Linked DNA regions of Homo sapiens: all the other regions are linked to region 3. Evidence: promoter capture Hi-C in 16 types of primary human blood cells and fetal thymus (Javierre and others, 2016). All regions are on one chromosome and are shown on one strand. Each heading gives the region's core, a stretch centred on a gene start or on the middle of the fragment in contact. The rest is flanking DNA. Distances are from core to core; before and after follow the strand shown. Region 1 overlaps KIF5A (kinesin family member 5A). Region 2 overlaps GLI1 (GLI family zinc finger 1). Region 3 holds the start of OS9 (OS9 endoplasmic reticulum lectin).

What was found. Contacts are between HindIII fragments. The CHiCAGO score rates a contact against its expected background, and 5 or more counts as called.
Region 1: a fragment that was not itself captured here is called in contact with the fragment with the promoter of OS9 in region 3 in 2 of 17 cell types (M0 macrophages and M1 macrophages); the score reaches 5.3 in M0 macrophages.
Region 2: a contact is called between a fragment that was not itself captured here and the fragment with the promoter of OS9 in region 3, in 1 of 17 cell types (total CD8 T cells). The highest score is 5.2, in total CD8 T cells.

What each region holds. Positions count from the first base shown.
Region 1 is chr12:57,563,525-57,566,224 of GRCh38, reverse strand. KIF5A (kinesin family member 5A) reads right to left here. Exons shown (of 29, transcript NM_004984.4): 2 at 2,699-2,700; 3 at 2,532-2,605; 4 at 2,013-2,117; 5 at 1,717-1,765; 6 at 1,252-1,307. Among named protein-coding and RNA genes, the nearest start is that of KIF5A, 15 kb to the right of the region's middle. The HindIII fragment of the contact is 4,556 bases long and covers 1-2,700 here.
Region 2 is chr12:57,470,457-57,473,156 of GRCh38, reverse strand. It overlaps GLI1 (GLI family zinc finger 1), which reads right to left. Exons shown (of 12, transcript NM_005269.3): 12 at 889-2,700. The coding sequence ends at 1,096. It overlaps ARHGAP9 (Rho GTPase activating protein 9), which reads left to right. Exons shown (of 18, transcript NM_032496.4): 18 at 469-888. The coding sequence ends at 640. Among named protein-coding and RNA genes, the nearest start is that of ARHGAP9, 8.1 kb to the left of the region's middle. The HindIII fragment of the contact is 4,786 bases long and covers 1-2,700 here.
Region 3 is chr12:57,692,732-57,695,431 of GRCh38, reverse strand. OS9 (OS9 endoplasmic reticulum lectin) reads right to left here and starts at 1,300. Exons shown (of 15, transcript NM_006812.4): 1 at 1,109-1,300; 2 at 506-682. The coding sequence starts at 1,270. RefSeq lists enhancers at 1,060-1,109, 1,097-1,671. The HindIII fragment of the contact is 11,057 bases long and covers 1-2,700 here.

The DNA.
Region 1 (2,700 bases), core at 162-2,661, 130 kb after region 3:
GCTGAGGCAGGAGAATCACTTGAACCCAGGAGGCAGAGGTTGCAGTGAGCCAAGATCATGCCATTGCACTACAGCCTGGGTGACAGAGTGAGAATCTGTCTCCAAAAACAAAAACAAACAAACAAAAAAAACCACTGTCTCTCTACTACACAGGCTGGAGTGCAGTGGCACTATCATGGCTCACTGCAACCTCAAACTCTTGAGCTCAAGCAATTCTCCCGCCTCAGCCTCCTGAGTAGCTGGGACTACAGGTGTGTGCCACCATGCCTGACAAAAATTTTTTTTTTTTTTTAAACAAGAGACTCAGCATAGTGGCTCATGCCTGTAATTCCAGCACTTTGGGAGGCTGAGGCAGGTGGATCACCTGAGGTCAGGAATTAGAGACCAGCCTGGCCAACATGGTGAAACCCCGTCTCTACTAAAAATACTAAAATCAGCCAGGCGTGGTGGCACATGCCTGTAGTCCCAGCTACTCGGGAGCCTGACGCAGGAGAATCGTTTGAACCCAGGACAGGGAGGTTGCAGTGACCCTAGGTCGAGCCACTGCACTCCAGCCTGGGCAACAGAGTGAGACTCTGTCTCCAAAAAAAAAAAAAAAAAAAATTAGATTAAATAAGAGAGACGGGTCTTGCTATGTTGGCCAGGCTGATCTTGAACTCCTCAAGTGATCCTCCCACCTCAGCCTTCTAAAGTGTTGGGATTACAGGCATTTCTTCCAGTAAACTTTGATTTGCAAATTAAATTGCATGCACACTGACCAATGACCTTTCAAGACAGTATCTTTTCTTTTCTTCTTTTTTTTTAAAGACAGGTTCTCACTCTGTCGCCCAGGCTGGAGTGCAGTGGCGCAATCTCGGCTCACCGCAACCTCTGCCTCCCAGGTTCAAGAGATTCTCCTGCTTCAGTGTCCCAAATAGCTGGGATTACAAGCATGTGCCACCACGCCCAGTTAATTTTTTGTATTTTTAGTAGAAACGGGGTTTCACTATATTGGCCAGGCTGGTCTTGAACTCCCGGCCTCAAGTGATCCACCCACCTCAGCCTCCCAAAGTGCTGGGATTACAGGTATGAGCCACCATGCCCAGCCAAGACAGTATCTTTTCTGATCCCCTAGACTCTCCCTGGCCCCTAGGCACATCTCATTCCTCCAGGATATCCACCCTCCAACTTCAGGGTCACTGACCTATGCTCCTCCCCCACCAACATTCTCAATACACTGGCCCCACATAGGTGCCCCACACCCACTCTCACCTTGACAAATGGCACCCGGTTCTTGTCCTCGTGCACGGACAGATTTGTCTTGGTCACTGAATCAAAAGAATGCAGGGTAAGCAAGACTAGTACTTCCACCGCCCCCATCTGCACCTTGCAGTCAGCTCAGATGGTGGTTTTCTTCTCTGTGCTAAAGGAAGACTCTCCCTGTGAAGCCTAAACTCCCTGCACGAGCTGAAGGCTCAGTTCCTCCTCCTTCTCCTCCTCAGGGCTCCTGCTCCTCGGCCCCAGATCCTCTCGAACTGTTTATATGTAGTCCTTGGCTGCTAAGCTCATCTCCTGACCTTCTCAGTTTTTGGAAATTCTGGTAAACGGGGCCAAAAGACTTGGGTGCTGTGTGCCCTCTGCATCTCTTGTCAATTGGTACCTAATTCCAAATGCAATGTGAGCTTTCTTTTCTCCACCCTCCTCACACACCCTCATCCACTGGGACAAAACACTCACCATCCAGAAGGTCACGAATTTTGTCCAGGTAAATTTCAAAGTAAGAAACCTGGTTAAGAAGAAAGAAGGAGTGTGAAGTAAAGAGGGCCTATCTTAAATCTAGTTCAGGAATCCCATACTAATGTGACCTGCTCAAACGGTGGTGGGAGGAAAAGAACAGAAGAGAACATCTTGACAAAGAACTCTGGTAACCGGAAAGGGAGTCAAGTTGGGGAGCCCAGGCTCTTCAGTGGGAAGATTTTAGATCTTCCCCTCCCAGTCCCCATCTGAATGCCCAGCTGTCGTGCCCTGGTCACCTTGATGTGGAACTCAAGGTTCTCATCCATGGAGTAGATGTGGTTGAAGATGTCTCGGGCAATTCGAGGAATGATTCCCATCAGCTGAGGGTCGTGCAGCTTTCCCTGGCGAGTGAAGGTATTTGAGAGTGAAGCTGGGGCTCAGGGAGAATGAGACAACTCAGATGTATGCAGGTGAACACCAAGGCAAGAGTCAATAAGAAGAACATCCTAAGTTAGGAGATGGTCACCACCATGTCTGCCTTTTAGAGGAGCAAGGAGATAATTGAGTAGCCCTTTGGACTTCCATTGCTTTTCCCGATCAAAAGAAGACTGGAGTAGTGGAAAGGATGATCCACTGCAGTGGGTTGGAGGGATTCCATTAAACTTCCCCTAATATTGCCCTTCAGTTCATCCTCTGTACTCATCTATCTGCCTCTGGACCAGGCAATCCTTGATTCCTAGACCTTCCCCCACTGAGATTCCCTGATCTTCCATTAACACTCCTAGCCCCTCAACCACCAAAGCCAGAACCCTCACCTCCATGGTATGTGTTTTCCCTGAGGATGTCTGTCCATAAGCAAAAATGGTGCCATTGTAGCCAGCAAGGACATCTGGAAGAGACAGTAGAGAAAGAGTACTGGTGGAGATAGGTCGGGTAGGAAATGGGGTGCTGAGAAGAGACATTCTAAAAAGAAATCTATTACCT
Region 2 (2,700 bases), core at 191-2,690, 220 kb after region 3:
ACACCGTGCCCGTCAAAGACTTTAGGTCAAAACCTAAAGGTCAGCATCAAGTGGGGAAATGGAACCAAGATGCTGTGAAAGGAATAAGGGAAATCTTACTTCTCCCTTCCCTCTGCCTCTTTGTCTCCCATTGGGACATTGCTGATGGCTTCTTTGGTTGAACTGGGCCTGGGCAGTGACTTCTGAGAGAGGATGGCCACTTGAATTAAAGACTCCCAAACTGTGAGCAGGCAGAACTCTTGGGGCAGCCCCTGAAGTCGGAAGAGGCAGTTATATCTTCAGGTTGTATCCTGAAGGTTTCTCCACTGGTCCATCTCCATTCTCCTTGTATCTCCTTGGTTTTTTTGTTACCATGTGGAGGAATCCCAGAGTGAACTCTTCCCTGCTCAGAACTTTGAAGGGTTAGTTAGATTGCTATGAAGTGGCAAGCTGCTGCCATATATCCCCTTCCTTGGCCTTTGCTTACAGGGTGATAGCACACTCAGATAAGAATCGCATGACACCCCACAACCTGGGAATTGTGTTTGGACCAACCCTGTTTCGGCCAGAGCAGGAGACATCTGACCCAGCAGCCCATGCTCTCTACCCAGGGCAGCTGGTCCAGCTGATGCTCACCAACTTCACCAGCCTCTTCCCCTGATGCAGGGAAGGAAGAAGAGAAAACATATTTCCGGTCATCTCTGGTGGTGAGAGGCTGGTGTTCTGTTTTGAGGATATCCCTTTAAATCTCCCAAATGACTGTCTCTATCTTCATGAGTGTGACTTGAGGTGTTGGGATGGGTGAGGGAGCTTCTCTAAAGAGGAAAGTGAGTGGATTAACCCCTGCTTCTCTTCTTGTTCCCTGTTATCATTCCTCCCCAACATAATAATACATAAAGTGGCATGGTATTTTTTCTGATGCAGTTCCTTTATTATCAGGAAACAGTGTCATTATCAAATTTCTCCTCAAAACGTATACAGACTATACATAGCCCCCAGCCCATACCTCCCATCCCTGGGGCATCTTGTGCATGGGACTGCAGCTCCCCCAATTTTTCTGGAAGGATAGAAACCCCTTAGGAAATGCGATCTGTGATGGATGAGATTCCCTACTCTTTAGGCACTAGAGTTGAGGAATTCTGTTTCCCCAGGTAGGGATCTCAGTAAGACACTCATGTTGCCCACAGCCATGTTGGGGGGCCCAGAGGGAGGTGGGGTATGTCCAGAGCTGCCCCGCTGATCATGGGAAGGAGGAGGACTCAGCCCCTGGGGCTCATCCAGAATAGCCACAAAGTCCAGCTGAGTGTTGTCAAGATCAAGAGAGTCCAGGGGGTTACATACCTGTCCTTCGGGAGGAGGGTACAAGGCAGGACCCCCTCCTAGCCTGCCCACCTCAGGATGACCACAGCTGGGGTTTGTGCCTCCCACTTTGAGAGGCCCATAGCAAGTGGGCAATGGGGGCAGAAGTCGAGGTGGTGCTGCTGCCCTATGTGAAGCCCTATTTGCCCCCACTACAAAATTTTCATGGCATGGTGAAGGGGTGGGATAGGAACCTGACTTGTGATTGGGCAAGTTGGGTCCAAAGCCAGGTCCATATGTGTTCACTGGAGCTTTAGCACGGCTTGGGCTAACCTGGGAACCCCCCAGAAACTTGGGACTCTGGTAGGAAGGTTCCTGGGCGGGGGCATCTTCCCTGCCCCCACCCTCCCACAGTAGCTCCTGTTGAGATTGAACATAATTACACACAAGCTGAGCCTTGAGCTGCCCTGTGGAATGGGTGGGGGAATCAAAGTCCAGGCAAGGCCTGGGTTCTGAAGGAAGATAATCAGGGGGTGGCTGGGTATAGGGGCCTGACTGGAGATATTGGGGAGGAGAGGGCTGGGGGTAATGGGAAAAGAGAGGCTGTGGATGTGGGGGCCCCTCACTGGGGTGGGCATTGAGGCAGGGTGCCAGTCCTGTGGAGTCAGACCCCACTGGGCACCCCTGTTCTGGCTTGACTTGCACTTGTCCATAATGTTCAAGTCGAGGACACTGGCTGTAGGTTCCACCTAGAGCCTTGGGGCCTGGGTACAGCCCAGAGTGGGAAGGGAACTCACCCCATGTTTCTTGGGTGGGGTCAGGATATGAGGCCTGCTGGGGACAGGGGTTGGGGCCATAGTTGGTGGGTGGACCAGGCCCAAGAGGCAGAGAGCCTGGACCCCTCGCTCCATAAGGCTCAGCTGCTGCCCCTTCAGGTCCCCCATATCCCAGAGTATCAGTAGGTGGGAAGTCCATATAGGGGTTCAGACCACTGCCCACCATGGAGGTCCCAACTTCTGGCTCTTCCTGTAGCCCTCTAGCATCCATGGCAGCATTCTCAGTGATGCTGGGGGGCTGTGGTGAGTAGACAGAGGTTGGGAGGTAAGGATCAAAGTTCTGTCCTCCCCCTGCCACAGTGGGTGGGGTATGGACACAGCCCAGGCTCTTGAACCTCTGGACTCTAGCTGGAGCAGGACGGTCAGCAGCCTGGGCTGGGTCACTGGCCCTCCGGGTGACCCCTGCATTGGGGTTGTATCCTGGATACTCGGCTCGGCTTCTCCAAGGAGGCATGGGAAGACCACCTATCCGATCCAGGCTGGATGCTGCAGTGGGCGAAGTACCACCCCCTCTGGCTGAAGCATATCTTGCCCGAAGCAGGTAGTGCTGGGCAGGCATAAGGCCAGGCAGGGAGGATGCTCCATT
Region 3 (2,700 bases), core at 51-2,550:
ATTGAACTTCTTGAACATTCCTGGCACTGTTCTGGCCACTGGGAATACAACTGTGAACAAGATTAATTCTTTGACCTCATGGAGTTTACACTCTAATGCGGGGAATCAGACCGAAAATAAACAAACTGATTCAGTAAATATGATTTCAGATCATGAAAAGTGCTACGATGAAAATAAAACAGGATACTGGAGCAGAGTGATAGGGCAGGGGGTGACTTTAGCAAGTAGGCTTAAGGAAGTACTCCTCCTACCCCACGCAGACCCTCAATCTTGCTTTAGCCCTTTTCTGAGATCTTCTATCCTAACCTGCTCCTACGTTCAGCAAAGTGTCATCAGTGGTTGCAGGATTCTTTGCTTCTTTCCTGTCCGTGTAATCTGTCTACTCCTCCAGTGGTCTTCTTAACCACTACAGGTCCCCTAGATCCTGCCTCATTCAGTGGACTCCAGTTCTTGGATGAACTGCTAGTTTCCAAGCCCTCATTCTATCTAACCCAGTCCCTTTCACCTTCAGCAAGCAGGGAGCATCTCTCATTGGGCTCAACAACTCAGGGATCCCAGGCCCTTGGTAAGCAGGTGTTTCCTCCTCCCTTTCACGCTGGAAGTGAATAGCTCCAGCTGGCAGGCGACACTCATAGCGCTGTTTGTACTTAGAGGAGACAATCACCACGTCCGAAGATTGGCTCTGGGAAAGAAGGGAGGGTCGGGGGGCAAGGAAGCAAAGAAAGGCTGGGATCAGGGAGAACAACGAAATCCCTCTTCAAACCCTGGGGAAGAGATCAGTCGAAGACAGAATAAGCCATAAGCCCTCCAGCTGTATTTAGTGGGTGAGAGGAGAGGGCGCTCCCATTTCTCCACGGGGGCGGAGTCCGGGTGTTTCGATCATAAACTGAGACCTGAAGGTTGACAGCGGGAAGCCCCACCTCTCCCAATTCCTGGCCCCCAGAGAATTGGTCTCAGTCTGCGACCCCCAGGGGTCACCGTAAAAGCAATACCTACTCTTCCCGATTCCCCGTAGGCTCCAGCCCCAGACTCCGGAGCTGCCCTTCTTCCTCTATCTCTTACCCGCTTCCTCTTCTGCCCAGACCCTCGCCCCTTATACGCCTCTCACCTGCCCTCCCATGACAGGCAACGGCAGGATCTCGATCCCATAACGCATCTCACTCAGCTCCTCCAGGTTCAGGCTCCCGACACCGCCGGTCAGACTTGCGGGTAACAGGAGTCCCAGAAGCAGCAGTCCTAACAAACTGGACAGCAGCGTTTCCGCCGCCATCTTTCGTTCCCCTTCTTATGCAGAGAATCTGTTTCCGCCCTAAGCCAGGCAGCGGCCTCAACACGCCCATCGGCGCCACATGATTTTATTGGCTGTACGTTCTATCCCTCCCACGTACCCTATTCCTATTTGTAAACGTGGCTCCAAGGTCCTGGGGAGGTGGATCACGACGATTAGAAATATCAATCGCTGTCCGTGATTGGTCAGAGACCAGCCAATCATCGACAAGATCAAACCCCTCCTCGTTCCCCAATTTCAGAGGCGTGGTCTATGCGCTTGGTCCTTTTAAGTTTGCCCTCTGTCTTCGCCCAGCTGTCATGCGCATCTCATTGCTTTTTCAGACGTCTCTTGCATTATATCCTGCCCACCGCCGGGCGGAGTATTGAGGCAGATAGGTAGCGTGCGCAGTGCCGGTGAAAGTTATTAAATGCTTGTTGCAAAACAAACAATTATTATACGGACGCTTACCTCTTTTCATATATACATATTGCTTTGAGGCAATCAGAAAATTTGTGTCAAAACCTTCCTATACGATCCTGCAGTTGACCTCCAGTAAAATGACCTCCAGTAAAAATCCTAGAGAAATAATGCGGGCAGCCAGACGTGGTGGCACGCACCTGTGGTATCAGCTACTCCGGAGGCTGAGGCAGGAGGATCTCCTGAGCCCAGGAGTTCAAGTGCAGCCTGCGCAACACAGCGAAACCCCGTCTCAAATAAGTACGTACATACATACATACATACATACATACATACATACATACATACATGCATACATGGGCTTCCAGTTAAGGTGAAATTATGTATTACTCTCCAGGCCGTAAGAAAGGGAAAGGAGACAACAACAGCAACATTTTGGAAGCTGGAAATCAAACAGAAGAATGTTAACTGGTTTAGCAAACTTGAGAATATTTATTACGAAACAAAGGTAAACAAGAGGCTGATTATACCTTTGGAAAACCCTCTCTGGGGAATCTCACCAGCCAAAACGAAAAATCCCAAAGATACCCTTATCAGAGTTCTCTTAATGATATAGATAACTAGAATGAATTCCACATGTAACACTTTGGCCTACGTGCCCCAGCCCTCATTCCACTTTCCAATCAGCTTTTTAGTGTTCTTACTCTTCAAAATAAATAGCCAGAGATCATTAGACATTTAAGGAAGGACTTTAATATACAAGTAAGAAACAAACAAGAAGGGAAAAGCAAATGAGAGGAAACATAAATTGCAAGGGAGGGGAAAAAACACTAAAAATAAAAAATTTAAAAATAGGCCGGGCACGGTGGCTTACGCCTGTAATCCCAAAACTGTGGGAGTCCGAGACGGGCGGATCACTTGAGGTCAGGAGCTCAAGACCAGCCTGGCTAACGTGGTGAAACCCCGTATCTACTAAAAATACGAAAATTAGCTGGGCATGGTGGCACGCGCCT